Regions from separate parts of the Homo sapiens genome. Here region 1 is linked to region 2. Evidence: promoter capture Hi-C in 16 types of primary human blood cells and fetal thymus (Javierre and others, 2016). All regions are on one chromosome and are shown on one strand. The core of a region is centred on a gene start or on the middle of the fragment in contact, and the rest is flanking DNA. Distances in the headings are between cores, read along the strand shown. Region 1 overlaps CSNK2A1 (casein kinase 2 alpha 1). Region 2 holds the start of NRSN2 (neurensin 2).

Evidence for each region. The method cuts DNA at HindIII sites, captures the fragments that hold promoters and counts their contacts. A CHiCAGO score of 5 or more calls a contact.
Region 1: a contact is called between a fragment that was not itself captured here and the fragment with the promoter of NRSN2 in region 2, in 7 of 17 cell types (activated CD4 T cells, naive B cells, total B cells and 4 more). The highest score is 8.6, in activated CD4 T cells.

Annotation. Positions count from the first base shown.
Region 1 is chr20:534,621-539,796 of GRCh38, reverse strand. All of the region lies in intron 1 of CSNK2A1 (casein kinase 2 alpha 1), which reads left to right. Among named protein-coding and RNA genes, the nearest start is that of CSNK2A1, 6.6 kb to the left of the region's middle. RefSeq lists an enhancer at 5,066-5,115. The HindIII fragment of the contact is 2,441 bases long and covers 30-2,470 here.
Region 2 is chr20:342,681-348,360 of GRCh38, reverse strand. NRSN2 (neurensin 2) reads right to left here and starts at 1,250. Exons shown (of 5, transcript NM_001323682.2): 1 at 1,219-1,250; 2 at 849-927. LOC101929937 (serine/arginine repetitive matrix protein 2-like) reads left to right here. Exons shown (of 4, transcript XM_047440635.1): 2 at 1-261; 3 at 347-942; 4 at 1,370-2,095. The coding sequence ends at 1,693. RefSeq lists silencers at 143-232, 413-942, 963-1,382 and enhancers at 189-951, 952-1,714, 1,715-2,478. The HindIII fragment of the contact is 16,038 bases long and covers 1-3,407 here.

The DNA.
Region 1 (5,176 bases), core at 1-2,500, 190 kb before region 2:
GAGATTTGGGACTTCTGAAATGATAAGCTTTAGATGGGAAACCTTTGGGACCTTGGGATGGGATGGATGTATTTTGCATTTGAGAGAGAGATGAATCCTTGGAAACCAGAAGGCAGACTGCGGTAAGCAGAATGGCTCCCCTACGATTTCCATACTATAAACCCTGGAACATGAATATGTTAAGTAGATTTAATTAAAGTTAAGGATCTTAGGTAGATTATCTTGGATTTTCTGGGTGGGTTTATTCTACTCACATAAGCACTTAAAAGCAGAGAACTTTTTCTGGCTGGTGTCAGAGATGAGGCAGAAGGGGAAGTCAAATTTGAAGCATGAGAAGGACTCAGCCTGCCGTTACTGGAGGGGACCAGATTGAAAGTGTGAGACGGGGAATGCAGGCAGCCTCTAGTAGGAAAGGCCAGTCCCAGCTGACAACCAGCAAGGAAGTGGGAACTCAGTCCTACAGCTGCAAGGAACTAAATTCAGCCAATAGCTTGAATGAATGTGGAAGCAAATTTTCCCCAGAGTTTCCAGCAGGGAACCCACCCACTGGATACCCTCATTTAGCCCTTGTGAGACCCAGTCAAGCCCACTGACTTCTGTAAGATAATCCATTTGTGTTGTTTTGTTTGTGATAATTTGTTATGACACAATGGAAAACAAATACAGGGGTTTTGCTGGTTTTATTTTAGAGTCTTTGGGATATCATTTTCTAGAGAACAAAGATAGCAAAGATTCTATAAAACAATTTAGTCCTGGAAGACTCCACGGAATAATGGTGTTGAGTGGAACCTGTGCCTGTTTCTTGATGTTTGAATATTATTATTGTCCTTAGATGCAGTTTGAAGGGGCTTGATGGTCAGCTTAGTGAGATGTAGTTTCTGAAGGTCTAGGACATTGGTAGGATTTCTGTAAATAGGTGGTTCTTCCATATCTTGGATAAATGACATAATTTCTTCATTAGTTTTTATTGGCTTAATAATGGGTTTCTATGACAGCCTTTTAAGGCTTATTTCATATTTTTTTAGAGGAGATGGAAATGGGTGATACATTTTTGTGAATTTGTAACTGTCTCTCTGTTCTCTCACACCTCCCACCCCACCCCAGCTCAGCTCAAACTTGTAAGATCTTTTCTCCCTGTCATTGTCTGTTGAGGTTGTTGAGTTTAAGAGTCAGATCTGGGAATCATCACTACAGAATGGAGTTTCTAGCTTTTAAGAAAAGTCTTTTCTTTTTGTTCTTTAAAGTATCCTATTAATTGGATTCATAAAATATGGACTAACTAAACTTTAGTCAGAGGATGAAGGAAGTGAGACCATTTCTTTTGAGTTATTACCTGAATAGAAAGATGATTACAAGATTAGCATTTCAGGGTATGAAAGACTTTAGAGGTTATGTTTGACTTTGGGTTTAGAGTAAGGGAAATTGGGCCACATGAATGTTAACTGGTCTACTAAGATATCTCAGCCCTAGAGCTAGTCTAGAATCCTGGTCCAGCCAATAGAGAATCATGACTTTTGAACTATGTTCCCTGAGTACCCTTTTCTACTGTTGGCCGGGCATGGTGGCTCACACCTGTAATCCCAGTTCTTTGAGAGGCCGAGGTGGGCAGATGACTTGAGGTCAGGACAAGACCAGCCTGGCCAACATGGTAAAACCCCATCTCTACTAAAATTAGCTGAGTGTGGAGGTGCGTGCCTGTGGTCCCAGCTACTCAGGAGGCTGAGAATCACTTGAACCTGGGAGACGGAGGTTGGTTGCAGTGAGTCAAGATCACGCCACTGCACTCCAGCCTGGGGGACAGAGCAAGACTCCGTCTCAAAAAAAAAAAAAAAAGATGTTAACTGTCTATAATATTCAACTATATGACAACTTTTGCATAAATATTACAGTATGATTTGTACAAGTTCAGAAACTGAAAACCAATATGATTTGCCATTGAATTAGGTAAGGGCTTAGTATTTTAAGGTAATAAATAATGTGATACTTGATTTGAAATGAGAAACTGGGTTTTGATCTGTCACAATTCGTGGGTAACCTGGATAAGGTTTGTTTCATGAGAGTATTAATGTGTTCTTATACCTGAATTTCTTTGAACTTCTGAAATGGATAATTTCGAAAGTAGCATGTCATTTAGTTTATAGAGAAATCTAGGCCAGCCAGCTTTTCAAATGAAGAAATTCCTCTAGGATTATTAAGGAAAAGTAGCTGCTGTCATTGTAACAAAGGATGTATTTTCATTGGGTTATAGACAATTGGTAGTTTTCTTACGTTGAGTGCTCCCAGATGTACTTTTTTTTTTTCACATGTAGAAGTCAAAGATTGAGTCTTTTAAAAAGTTTAAGGTGAAAGCATTCACAGTATCACAAGATACTGCTAAGAGTGGCATTTTAACTGGTTTCTACAAATTCTGTCTTTCAGTCTTAGACATTAAAAAACCCTACGTAGCAACAGTTGCTATGGTCGGCAAGCTTCTTTACATTCGTGGTGATAATGTTTTCTTGCATAGAAAATATTGTGTTATCTGAGGTGACAGTTTTAGGGTTAAATACCAAGGTACAAGTTAGATTAATGTTTTATAATTTTTTATGTGTGACATCTTAAATGCCCTTATATTGGCTGCTCTTTTCTTTTTATACTTTCTTGTCTTGTGGGTTTTTCTGACAGGTTTTTATTAGCTGAAACATTTTAATTTGCTTGGAAAAGTGAACATTTGAAATTTTCCTGAAGTTATGACTAATGCTTTAATGGGCATTTCTCAGTTTAGCTATCTCATCAATGTTCTATAAATTTTAAGAAAGCTACCCTGTTTAAAATGAATGGGTAAATTATTTTCCAAAAAATGGTATCATGTCATATCCAGAAATACGAGATGGTCATTTTGGGTTATTGAATTCATAACCACTCAGAAGATGTTGTTCATTCAGCAGATCCTGAGCGCCTGCCACGTTTCTGGCAGGCGTTGTGCTAAAGATCTCCAAACTGTCACTGCCCTCCAAGCTCAAAATTGAGTGACGTTTTCTGATAACAGGCATATCATACCACAACTTAGTAGATTTTGGAGGTGTTTTCTTATAATAACTCCTATTTGCTTTGTATCTTAGGTGTAGTTTTTGAAACAGCTGCAGAAATGAGAAGGGGGTAGAATAGAGAATTAATTGAGATTGCGGGTAGGGAGGGGAAGGCAATAGGTTAGTGGGAAAGAACTCCCACTTTGAGTTTGGGGAAGTTTACTTAACCTCTTCAAGTCTGGGAGTTCTTGTCTCTACAGTTCGGATAACAACTACCTTGGGCAACTTACTAACTTTTGGTTTCTTCACCTGTAACATGGGAATTAGTAGTACCTACCTCAGGATTTTTGTGAGGATTAATAACTAGAGTACTAGCTAGTATTATCTCAGGATTATTGAGGATTAAAGGAGAAAATTGATAAAATGTCTGGCATGTGGGTGCCCAACATTAGTTCTTTCCCTTCCCTTTCGGAGAAAAGAATGTGTTTATTGCCAGTGCTGTCATTCTTCATTCTTTATTTTCATTTTCTGCTGCCAAGAGTTCTTATTTTTTTAATGAGACTTTTGACCTGTACTTCCTTGTTTCTAATGTAGCCTGTTGGGTGGGTGAGGTATGAATTGCTGCCTAGGGGTGGATCAGTATGTAAGTCACGCCCAGTGTAGATTACCTCAATTACTCGTGTACAGTGTCTATTACCTAGTCCTGGTGAGTCTAGGATTCTTTTGCTTCTAGATAGAGAAGGTAATATTCCCATCTCAGACTCAGGAAAAGGTCTACCTTTGCTCACCTATAGACTTGTAAATATAGATCAGAGGTCTTACTCCCAGTGGTTCTCTGATCACAGTTTGGGAATTGCTTGAATATTGTGTGTTAGGGATATGTTTGGAGAAGGCCAGCTCCCTGCATTAACATCTTCTCTATGTCTTGCTCTCTCAGGTAATCCACTAACTTGCTTTCTTGTTTGCTTTGTATTATTAAGTGATAAACTGTAGGCAGACCAGGAACTTGTATTTATCGGCACTTTAAAACTTTTTTTTTTTTTTTTTTTGAGATGGAGTCTTGCTCTGTCGCCCAAGCTGGAGTGCAGTGGCGCAATCTCTGCCTCCTGGGTTCAAGTGATTCTCCTCTCTCAGCCTCCTAAGTAACTGGGATTACAGGTGCATGCCACCCCACCGGGCTAATTTTTGTATTTTTAGTAGAGGCGGGGTGTCGCCATGTTGGCCACGCTGGCCTCAAACTCCTGACCTCAGGTGATCCACCCGCCTCAGCCTCCCAAAGTGCTGGGGTTACAGGCGTGAGCCACCGCGCCCGGCCAGTGTTTTGTGTATTTATGATTATATAGAATGGCTACAAATGGCCATCTGCTTTGGAGTTGTCTACCTTTTGTGAAAAAATGAAAATAGACTATTGCCTAGCAATTAAGTATTCAAGCATGTATTTTGCCACATAATTTATTGTGAGAAGGTTATCAATGTCAAATAAAATGCTTTCATTATTTGCTTCTATTTGTCTGTCTTCCTGACCAGTTCATTTTTCCTTCCAGTGAAGCCATCTTGAGCTAGGGTTTTCTTTGTGGGTAGTTGTTAATTTTTTTTGTAGAGACAAGGTCTCACCATGTTGCCCAGGCTGGTCTCAAACTCCTGGGCTCAAGCAGTCCTCTTAACTCAGCCTCCCAAAGTGCTGAGATTACACTCATGAGCCACCACACTGGTCCGAAGAAATTTTTTTTTTTTTTTTTTTTTTTTTTTTTTTTGGGAGATAGCATCTCACTCTGTTGCCAGGCTGGAGTGCAGTGGCACGACCTTGGCTCACTGCAACCTCCACCTCCCGGGTTCAAGCAATTCTCCTGCCTCAGCCTCCCAAGTAGCTGGGACTACAGGCGCACGCTGCCACGCCTGGCTTTTTTTTTTTTTTGTATTTTAGTAGAGATGGGGTTTCACTGTGTTTCCCAGGCTGGTCTCTAACACCTGAGCTCAGGCAATCCACCCATCTCGGCCTCCCAAAGTGCTGGGATTGCAGGTGTGAGCCACTGCACCCAGCCTGGTCTGAAGAATTTTTAAACACCACAGCTAAGGACCTGAGCATTCATCTGCAGCTACCTATATGCTCTTGTTACATACAGTTGTTATACTAGGGGGTTTTTCACAGCCATCTTTTATGACTGTTT
Region 2 (5,680 bases), core at 1-2,500:
GAGGAAAAACAACAACAACAAAAGCCACGACAGAGAACGGGAAAAGGCAGAGACTGAAAGCGAAGGACCGTCGGAGGAGGAGGGCGAGAGGTCTGGAGAGGAGGGCTCGCCGGAGGAGGCGGGCGGGGCGGGCTGTGCGGAGGGTGCGGCCAGCGCGGTACCCGCCCCGGCGAGGCGCTGGGGAGGCCCGGGTGGGGAGAAGAAATGGGGCCTGGGGGACGGTAGGAGCCTCCGTGCGGAGACCACTGTTCAAGGCCACAGGTGAGGAGGTGTGGAGGGGGCTTCGGGGCTGTTGACCTGGGTCAGCTCCTCCCCTCCAATTCACCGCTTCCGCGACTCCAAATAGATGGAATCACTCAGTCCTGCTGCTACTGGAGAGGGAAGGTGACCTTGACGCTGCCTCCCGCTCGGCCTGGCCCCTCCGCCTGGCGTTTCAGGGCTGCACGGAGTAGGTCTGGCGGGCGGGGGGCGGGGCGCAGGCACCCGGGACGAGGGTTGCCATGGGAACCGCTAGGGAGGCGTCCCCAGCCCGGGAGCCGGGAGGAGCTCGGTGGGAGGGGAGCGGGAGGCGGAGGGGGCTGCGCTGTCCGACGTGGGGAGACTGCGGCGGAGGGAGGAGGCGAGGGGCGGCAGGCACGGGCGGAAGTGACGGAAGCCAGGGCCCGAAGATGGACGGAATCTGTCGCCTCTGCACAGCCTCATTCAGTTGTGTCCTTCCCAGACCCTCAGACTCGCCCACTACAGCGTCCAGCGCTGCCCGGGCGGGGGAGAAGGGGCGCCCTCCCGGGGGGGATGGGTAGGGGGTGTCGGCCGGGGAAATCAGGCCATTTCCCGCCTCCCTTCCCCACCGGCACCCGCGCCACTCTTCCTGACAGGACCACCGATGCCCTGCTCCACACCAACTGCGTCCTTTTCCCTAGAGAGAAACTGAGGCAGAGAGGGGTAGGAATGGGTTTTTGAAGTGTTGGCGGGGGTGGGGGTGTCCTTTGAAGCCTCTACCCAGCCTATCAACCCTGAGGCGTCGAGGGGCGATGGGGCTGTTTCTGTCTCCCGCCCCTGCTGCTTCCCTGGGACCCCCACCTCCCAAAGCCGAGGCTCAGGCGCAAAGGTCCCGGCCCTGGCGGGACACGGCCCGGGCTGAGGATGCGGGCAGAGCGCGGGGGTTCTCCAGGGGCTGGGGCTGGGGCCTGGCCGCGCGTGGGGCAGGGCTAAGCTCACCTCTCTGCCTGCTGTCTCCGCCGAGCAAAGGCGGGTCCGGTTCGCGCCTGCGCCGCAGTTCGGGGCGGGGGAGGGGGCGCCGGCCCGCCTCAGGGCCTGGCTCTGCAGACGGCGGCCGCCTGCAGCTCCCCCGGCTCCTGTCCCCTTCCAGAGTTCCCTGCTCGCTCGGACACCCCAGCGCCCTCACAGAGACCCCTCGGACTCCCTGGGCCCCAGCCCCTCACGCAGCCCCTCAGACTCCTCACCGAAGCTGCCGTCACTCCCGCAGTTCCCCACCCCTCCCGTGGAAGACCCATCCCTTAACCGAGCCTTCCTCTCCTCGCTGCACCGTCAGTCCCTTTTCCAGGTCTCCATCCCCCTCATGGAGCCCCACCCCAGCGTAGAAACCGCTTCTCCTCGCCGGGCCCCCGCCCTCTTCACAGGCTCCCATCTGTCTCCGGGCTCCTACCGGGAAGTCCCCTCCCACTTGCCTTGAGAGCCGCTAATCCCTCTGGAGTCCTCACATCTCACTCAGTCCCCATCCTCTTTTCATCCTCTTTTCCTCTTTGAGTCCCTACCCATCCCTGGTACGGGATCAGCCCTTGTACCTTGAGAAGGGAGTTTGGGTGGAGGACTCGGGGTTGGGAGAGAAGTGACCTCCACTTTGGAAGGAGCTAATGACAGCCTCCCTTGTTGTTTCCTCCCCTAGCCCCAGTTCTGCCCTGGGCAATGCGTGCCCACTGCCCATCTCCCTGGAGAGCCAGCCTGTGCCAGGCAGCTGCATCTGCCTCCCACCCTGTCATGAGCTGTCAGCCTTGATTTTGTCCCACATTTGCTGTGTGATCTTGGGAAAGTCATTGTGCCCCTCCAACCGTCATCAAGCACCCTTGCACAGACATGCCTTTGTGTCTTGAGCATCTATTCTGTTTCTCCTTGTGCTAGGGGCTGGGGACACACAGAAGAATGAGCTCGGCAAGATAGGGCCACATCTTCCTTTTTAGTTTTTCTTTTTCTTTTTTTTTAATTTTTATTTTTTTGAGACAGCGTCTCACTCTGTTGTCCAGGCTGGAGTGCGGTGGCATGATCACGGCTCACTGCAGCCTCGATCTCCCAAGGCTCAGGTGATCCTCCCACCTCAGTCGCCTGAGGAGCTGGGACTACAGGCACGCACTACCATGCCTAGCTAATTTTTTGTATTTTTAATAGAGACAGGGTTTTGCCATGATGCCCAGGCTGGTCTTGAACTCCTGAGCTCAAGTGATCCACCTGCCTCGGCCTCCCAAAGTGCTGGGATTGTAAGCGTGAGCCACCGCGTCTGGCCAAGGCCACATATTTCTTGTTCGTGTTGTATCTGTGAGCCTCCCATAGTGCTTGGCACTGAGTAGGCAGCCCAGTAAATATTTACTGAAGACAGTCTAATAATAGTAGCAAACTTATTATGCTCACTATGTGCAAAGTGTTTAAGCGTTTTGTATGTTCTATTTACTTACTCATTTAAGTGTGTGTGTGTGTGTGTATGTGTGTGTGTGTGATGGGAGGAACTCTTGCAGCTCAAAACTAAAGGCCCCAAATGGTGACAGGAGATGGCATTGGAGAGGCAGGCAGAAGTGAGACCTTGTGGGGCCTCATAAGCCAAGGTAAGGAGTTTGAGCTTCAGCCCAAGGGTAGTGGGGAGCCATGGAAGGGTTATGAAGAGGGGTGGGATGTGATCTGATTTTCATTCTGAAAAGACCTCTGGCTGCTGTCAAGAGAACAGCATGTTGAGCACAAGAGTGACAGCAAGAGATCAGCAAAGAGATCAGAGATGACAGTGTCTTGGCCTGGTGCAGAGAAATGAAGACATTCAAGAGATGTTAGCCTGTAAAATGAACTACAGGAATAGCTACAGATTGGAAACAACCTGTGGTGGTTTTAAAATATAGCTACAAATTCTTTAGCACTCCTCTGTAGAGAGGTGGGATCCTTGTACCCTCTCTGAATCTTGGGTGAGCTGATGACTGCTTCAACCAATGGAGTACGGTGGAAGTAACACTCTGACTTCTAAGGTCCAGACATAAAAGTACAGGCAACTTCTGCTAGAACTCTAGCTCTTGGAGCCTGAGGCACCATGCCTACCTAGGGCTCCATGTCTGCTTAGAGGCTGCCATGCTGTCAGGATGCCAAGACCATCAGGAGAGGACACATGAAGGCACCACAGTCCCAGCTAAGCTTAGCTTTGAGTCATCCCAGTTCAAGCATAAAAGAAGTGAGTGAAGAAGAACCAGATGAGGCCAGGCACGGTGGCTCACACCTGTAATCCCAGCACTTTGGGAGGCCAAGGCGGGTGGATACCCTGAGTTCAGGAGTTCGAGACCAGCCTGGCCACATGGCAAAACCCCGTCTCTACTAAAAATACAAAAATAGCCGGGCATGGTGGCGTGCACCTGTAATCCCAGCTACTAGGGAGGATGAGGCAGGAGAATTGCTTGAACCCGGGAGGCAGAGGTTGCAGTGAGCCGACATCATGCCATTGCACTGTAGAAGGCGAAGGGGAAGGGGAAGAACAAGATGATTCCAGTGGCCAGCCATTTGAATCAGCTTCAGCCTTCAAATCTTCAAATCTTCCTAGCTGAAGACTCAAACATTGCAGAGTAGAAACAAGCTGGCCTCACTGTGTCCTGCCTGAATTCCTGACACACAGAACCCACAAGCATATTCAAGTGGTTATTGTGTTATACCACTAGGTTTGGGGGGTTTTGTTCTGTGCTAACAGATAACTGGGACACCACTTAAATATCCATCAATGGAAGACGAGTTATGTACATTATATGTCTTTGTGGAATACTATGCATCCATTAGAAAGAAGAAATTAGTCTATAATTATTTATATTAATCACACTTCAAGTGAAGAAGGATGCAGTGTTCTGAAAAGTCTTGATAGTATGCCTCCATTTGAAATTCTCAAAAAGATGGCACATATAGAGAACTTCTGGGAAAATAGACAAGAAAGAGGTAACAGTAGATGCCTTGGGGGAGGGTAACTGATGGCAAGGGTGGGAATGAAATTCACTTTTTTTTTTTTTTTTTGAGATGGAGTCTCGCTCTGTCACCAGGCTGGAGGGCAGTGGTGCGATCTCAGCTCACTGCAACCTCCGCCTCCCGGGTTCAAGCGATTCTCCTGCCTCAGCCTCCCCAGTAGCTGGGACTACAAGCACATGCCACCATGCCCAGCTAATTTTTTTTTGTATTTTTAGTACAGATGAGGTTTCACCATGTTGGCCAGGATGGTCTCTATCTCCTGACCTCATGATCTGCCTGCCTCGGCCTCCCAAAGTGCTGGGATTACAGGCATGAGCCACTGTGCCCGGCCGAAATTCACTTTTTACTATACACCTCTATGTTAGTTATCTATTGATTTTGTAAAAATTTAGGTGAGAAATGATGAAGAATTGGAGTGGGCAGGAAAAATGGAAAGGAGGGTGCAGGTGTGAAAAATGTCCATAAAGTTAAGTTGGCAGAACTTGGTTACTAAGAAGTAAGGGAAGTGACAGGGATTGAGAGAGAGAGAGAGAGACAGAGAGAGGGAGAGAGACAGAGAGGATAGAGGCTGACTTTTATGTTTATAGGTCAGGTGGGTGATGCTCCCATTAACAGAGATGTAAAATAGATGAGGGAAAGCCAGGTTGTGGAGAAGTTGATGCCCTTTGCTTTTGGCAGAGTTGAATGGCACTGTACAGGACATTCTGGCCTAGAGTCAGGGGCAAGGTCTTGGCCTTAGATACAACATAGGGAATTGTTCTCACTGGAAATGGCAGTTTTAAACTTGAACTGGCTTTAAACAAAGGGAATATAAAGGCTCACATAATTGAGAAGTCAAGGGATACTGGCTTCAGGCATGGCTGTATCCAGATGCTCAGGATCTTTCTCTTTATCTCTTGGCTCTTCCCTCATCTGTGTTGGCTTCAATGTCAGGCAGATTTTCCCTATATGGTAGCAAAATGGCCACAGACTTCAAATTTAACTGCTGGGAAAAGAATCTGTTTCTCCTTATAGTCTCAGGAAAAGCCCTGATGTTGATTCCCCTCACCCCAGTTAGATAATATGTCATTTACTGAACCCACTGGAGTGTCTCTGATTGGCTGGTTACTTGCTCACCCTTTGGGTGGCTGGCAGTGCTTAACCCAGAGAAACCTCTTGGACTGAGAACCTGCTTGAAGAGCTTCCCTAAAGGGAAATTGAAATACTGTTACTGTAAGAAAGGGCAGTGGGGCCAGGCCCAGTGGCTCATGCCTGTAATCCCAGCACTTTGGGAGGCTGAGGCAGGTGGATCACAAGGTCAGGAGTTTGAGACCAGCCTGACCAACATGGTGAAACCCTGTCTCTACTAAAAATACAAAAATCAGCCGGGTGTGGTGGCATGCACCTGTAGTCCCAGCTACTCCGGAGGCTGAGGCAGGAGAATCACTTGAAGCTGGGAGGCGGAGGTTGCAGTGAGCCAAGATCG